2 separate regions of the Homo sapiens genome follow, and region 1 is linked to region 2. Evidence: promoter capture Hi-C in human tissues and cell types (Jung and others, 2019). All regions are on one chromosome and are shown on one strand. Each heading gives the region's core, a stretch centred on a gene start or on the middle of the fragment in contact. The rest is flanking DNA. Distances are from core to core; before and after follow the strand shown. Region 1 has its middle 8.2 kb from the start of PCIF1. Region 2 holds the start of RBPJL (recombination signal binding protein for immunoglobulin kappa J region like).

Region 1 (2,700 bases), core at 91-2,590, 620 kb after region 2:
TCACAGGGAATGGGTGGGAGAGTGGAGGGGACCACCACAGGTGGCCCACCCCTATCTTGATATGACCAAACGCCGCCTGGGATGCTGAGCACTAACCCAGAGCAAGGACTGAATTTGGACTCCAGGGTCCTGGTAGGACCTGCACCTCCCTTGCTCCCTGGCTGTGCTCAGGTTGACCAGCTCTCCAAACACACCCTCCCTTTCTATACCTCCAGGCCTTGGCACACGCTGTGCCCTCCCCTTTTCCTTGCCTACCTGGAAAATCTATTTTTCCAATAAGAATCTGTTCATTGTCATCTCCTCTGAAGCTTTCTCCTTTGTGTGCCCACCACCCCCAGCCCCTGCCATCCCTCCAGAGCCCTCATCTCCCTGTGGCAGAGGGTTCATGTATATGTCTGCCTCCCACACTGCTCTGTGGGCTCCCTAAGACAAACCGTCTGTCCGTCTTACTTATCGCTTATTCTCAAGACTCTAGGACAGGCCAAGGGAAGAAATGGAGGGAATAGTACACCACATCAGACGCTTCCAAGGCCAGGAAGACCAAGGGAGACGCCCCCATTCCTCTCATCTATTCTTGGCCTAAATGGCTTCTCTCATCTGGTCCCAGAATGGCCCAAGAGCCACTCCCTGTGGGAACCACAGTTTGGGGTGGAAGCCTCCTTTCCACAGCTTTCCGGGGGCCAGACCCACTTGCCTTGGAAACTCCCTTTGCATAATTTAAACTGCAGTGTAGGGTCCATGGCCAGCTCAAGCCCAGCCTAGGCGGGGGCAACCTGGAGTGGGATCCAGCTAGAGTCTCCCTTCCCCAGCTGCCAGGACCTCAGGGGATGAAAGTTCCCTCTCAGCAGCTTCTTGCTGCAGTGGCAGAGAACAAGGGGGTTAAGCTATGTGGCAACCTGAGCTGGTTGTTTATGTTTCTGCTTTAGTGTGGAGGCTTGGCTTTGTCCGGAGTTGAGGCAGGGGTCCTCAGAGGCCCTGGCAGCTAGTGACCAGCCAGGAGTGGTGACATAATTTTCAGGGCTAGGGCCGGACATGATGGGTCACGCCTGTAATCCCATCACTTTGGGGTGCCAAGGTGGGTGGATCACCTGAGGTTGGGAGTGTGAGACCAGACTTGCCAACATGGTGAAACCCCATCTCTACTAAAAATCTAAAAATTACCTGGACCCAGTGGCACGTGCCTGTAGTCCCAGCTACTGGGGAGGCTGAGGCAAGAGAATTGCTTGAACCTGGGAGGGGGAGGTTGCAGCGAGCCGAGATTGCACCACTGCACTCCAGCCTGGGTGACAGAGCAAGACGCTGTCTCAAAAAACAATATTCAGGGCTCAGGGCAAAATGAAAACGTGGGACTTTTGTTCCAAAATTATTAAGATTTTTAAGATGGTGACAGTAGAACATTAAACCAAACACAGACTTTTCTTTTTTATTATTATTTTTATTTTCATCTTGTTTTTATTTTTTGAGACAGGGTCTAGAGTGCAGTGGTGCAATCATGGCTCACTACAGCCTCGAACTCCTGGACTCAAGCAATCACCCCCTGCGTCAGCCTCCCAAGTAGCTAGGACTGCAGGAGCACCTACTATGCCCAGCTAATTATTACTATTATTATTTTATGTAGAGATGGGGTTCTATGTTGCACATGCTGGTCTTGAACTTTTGGCCACAAGCAATCCTCCCACTTTGGCATCCCAAAGTGCTGGGATTACAGGCATGAGCCTCCACACCCAGTAAGCATGGGCCTTTCTAAATCTATGCAGCCGGCCCTGGTGCCAGGGAGAGGAGCCCAGCTTATTCCAACCACCTCTCTCAGCCCAGACCTATTGTCTACCCAGGCTTCTTAGTTCAGAAAAGTAGCTGGAGAAATGGAAAGCCTTAGGATCTTTGCTCAACTGCTCATCCCTATATTGGGAATAAAAGACTCCAGGCTACTGACAGAGACTCGGCCACAGCAGGCAGCCCACAGGGTGCTGCCTTGGTGTTCCCACCACAGAAACCAGAGCCTGGAATAGAAACGGGGATACCTGGCCAGGCACAGTGCCTCACGCCTGTAATCCCACCACTTTGGGAGGCCGAGGCAGGCAGATTGCTTGAGGTCAGGAGTTCGAGGCCAGCCTGGTCAACACGGTGAAACCCCCATCTCTACTAAAAACACAAAAATTAGCTGGGCCTGGTGATGTGTGCCTTTAGTCACAGCTACTCCGGAGGCTGAGGCAGGAGAATCGCTTGAATCCTGGAGGCAGAGGTTACAGTGAGCCAAGATCACACCACTGCATTCCAGCCTGTGCGACAGAGGGAGATCCTGTCTCAAAAAATAAATAAATAAACGGGCTACCTGAAAAAGCCACCTAGACTTCAACCCAGAGTGGTCTGTTCATGGTCATCAAATATTTACAGAGGGTCAGGCACAGTACTGAGCATGGGGTTACAAGGGTGAATAAGCCCCAGGCCCCACCCTTAAGCAGCGCACAGCCTAGTGGATGAGGAAAATTGACAAACATTATGAGCTTAGACCATTGTGGTAGTACAAGAGAGGGAACCTGTCCTAGCCGGGGTAGAAGGAAGTTCAGGGAAGGCTGCCTGGTGGAGGCGACATCTAGGCTAAGACTCGAAGGCTGAATTAGGTCAAGAGGGGAAGAAGAGTAAGGGCAAACAGCATATGCAGAGACTCAGGAGCTGGACACGGTGGCTCATGCCTGAAAT
Region 2 (2,700 bases), core at 155-2,654:
GAGGAGCTGGCTGCAGAGGGAGGACCTGCTTCCGCTCCCCTCCTCCCACTGGTGAGGGCTGGGCCCCAGTTCACCTGTCAACTGGAGCTGGGTTTCCCAGGGCTGAAGAAGGAGCAGCAACACGGGCCAGCAAAGAAGGCCTCTCATGGCGCTTGGGGACAGAGAATGGAGGTGTCAGAGCCTGGAGGGAGGAAGGAAAATAGAAAAGCAACAGTATTTACAGAGCTCTTATTCTGGGTGATAGGCACTTGGAGGGGGAAGACAGTTACAGGTTTATTTTACTAATCTCTCTATTTTTGTGTATGTTTGAAATGTTTCAGAATTAAAAAATTCTCATCACAGTGGGATTGCTGGGAAACACAAGAGATTCTTTTTTTTTTTTTTTTTAGATAGAGTCTTGCTCTGTCGTCCCGGCTGGAGTGCAGTGGCATGATCTCGGCTCACTGCAACCTCTGCCTCCCAGGTTCAAGCGATTCTCCGGCCTCAGCCTCCCGAGTAGCTGGGATTACAGGCTCCTGCCACCACACCTGGCTAATTTTTTGTATTTTTAGTAGAGAGCGGGTTTTGCCATGTTGGTCAGGCTGGTCTCAAACTCCTGACCTCAGGTGATCCTCCCACCTCGGCCTCCCAGAATGCTGGGATTACAGGCGTGAGCCACCGCGCTCGGCCCACAAGAGAATGGTAAATAAGAATAGATACATAGATACAAATATGCAAAATTTAAACAGAAAAAAACAGGTCTTCCTTAAATGTCAGGCACAGTGTTAAATGCTCTTCACGCATTGTGGCATTTAATCCTCTCTGCAATTGTAAGACTAAGGCTGTGATTGTCCCCCATCATACAGACAATGAAATTGAGGCTCAGAAAAGTTAAGCGCTGGTACCCAAAGTCATTCGGCCAAAAAGTGGCTGCGGCAGGATACAATCCCACGCCTGCTAGTTTCTGTGAGCCAGCCTGGGCGTTTGGTGCCTCTCCTCCTGCCAGGCGAACCTCTGCAGACAGAAGCCCTTCCCCACCTCGGCCCACTCCCCTACGCACACAGGCTTCTGTGTGGCTGTCTTTGCAACTCGCCAACCCCCCCAGACCCCTCCACACACACAAACACAGACATGCACTGCCCAACCGCAGGCGGCAGGGAGGGGCTGCGCCCTGTTGCGGGGCTGAGCGTGGTGGCGTGGCAGCGAGTGGACCAAAACCCACTGCGCACGAGAACGCGCGGCTTGGCGCCTGTTTCCCGCCTGCTCTCAGGAGCGACCGCCAGGGGGCGCCCGAGATGGCAGGGGGCGTGGGAAGCCCACATCTGCCCAGCAGGTGCGCCCACCCCGAGCAAACAGGGGGCCGGGGCCCGGGGCCTTGGAGATAAGGCCTGGACAGGATATAACCCGCGCAAGAGCCGAGGAGCAGGGGTGTGCAGGGTTCCAGCGACAGCAGCACTGGACTCGTCCAGAGGGCGGCGGGTGAGCGGCTGGGGCCCCGTGGAGCCACCATGGACCCCGCAGGGGCAGCAGGTGAGCGCTTACCCTCCCGAGGCCCCGGAGACGCCCCGTGAGAACTACGAAGGACCACCCCCCCACCCCCTCCCCACTATACAAATAGGAAAACTAAGCCCCAAGGAGGCAGCCCGCCGAACTGCAAAAGCAGGATTAGAACCTAGGGCTCCTGGTTCCCCTTCTCTCTCTTGAGGCCCCCTGGCGCCTAGAATTCACTAAACCTCATTTCCTTCCAGCTCCTACCCCACCGCCGCGCCCCATGCTGAAGCTGTGTTAGCCATTTTTCTGTTGCTGTTTCTTGGCAGAGAGGGCCAGCTGCCCCTAACCCAACAGCAGCTCCGCCCCCGCCCCCCAATTCCGTGAATGCGCCTATTCTGAGCGAGGCCAGTGCCTGCTTCTCACTCCAGGCGACCTTCTCATCCCGGATTCTTCTCCCTTTTCCCCTCCCAGGCCTGGTAGAAGAACATAAATCCTCTGGCAGGGCCCGTCGTGGGAGGGTGACCAAGCAAGATGTGGCAGCGCTGGTGGAAGTGGGAGGGCGGGGAACCCTTGTCAAGCTTGGGCCACAGGCAAAGCCAACATCCCTGGACAGCATGAGGGCTAAGGCACAAGGGGCCTCTGCCACCTCCCATACTTTCCTACCCGGAGATGCCTCTGGGCCCCTAAATCTTGGTTAAGGTTCCCCTCATCCCATTCTTGGTCTGAGCCAACTTCTCACCTGGCACCCTGCCTCCACCCCAGGAATCCTAGAAAGTCAAAATAGCAAATGCCTCAAAGTTCATCACCTTTCCAAACCCCTCATTCTACAAAGAAAGGAACTAGGTCCAGAGAGGGTAGTGTCTTGCTGAAGGGTACATGGCGATGTCGTGGCAGGACTGATACTAGAACCTGGGATTCCTCTGAGGAGTTAATCCTTGCATTAAAAAAAGAAAGATTCAGAGATGCCCTGAGGTGAGGTTGAGGGAGTGGAGCAGCAAGGGAGGAGAGGCCTGTAAATAAATTCTCAAAAGTCCCTTAGGGACATTTCAGGGGGTTCCTGGAGGGATGAGAGTAGAAAAGGGATGATCCTATTTTGATGGCTTTGAGGGTGGGGGCTCGATTTGGAAAGGACCCTGCAGAAGTGGGGAAGGGCACTGCAAATCAGATAGGGCACCCTAGGCAGCGTCTCTGCTAAAATACACTCGCCTGACCTGGCTTGATGCCTACTCC

The links. The method cuts DNA at HindIII sites, captures the fragments that hold promoters and counts their contacts. A contact is called where the count stands out against the background at its distance.
Region 1: a fragment that was not itself captured here is called in contact with the fragment with the promoter of RBPJL in region 2 in 1 of the 25 tissues and cell types used here (dorsolateral prefrontal cortex).

Annotation. Positions count from the first base shown.
Region 1 is chr20:45,925,100-45,927,799 of GRCh38, forward strand. No RefSeq gene overlaps it. Among named protein-coding and RNA genes, the nearest start is that of PCIF1, 8.2 kb to the right of the region's middle. RefSeq lists an enhancer at 2,211-2,505. The HindIII fragment of the contact is 6,331 bases long and covers 1-2,700 here.
Region 2 is chr20:45,305,436-45,308,135 of GRCh38, forward strand. RBPJL (recombination signal binding protein for immunoglobulin kappa J region like) reads left to right here and starts at 1,405. Exons shown (of 12, transcript NM_014276.4): 1 at 1,405-1,509. The coding sequence starts at 1,488. It overlaps MATN4 (matrilin 4), which reads right to left. Exons shown (of 10, transcript NM_001393530.1): 2 at 75-181. The coding sequence starts at 147. The HindIII fragment of the contact is 4,763 bases long and covers 1-2,582 here.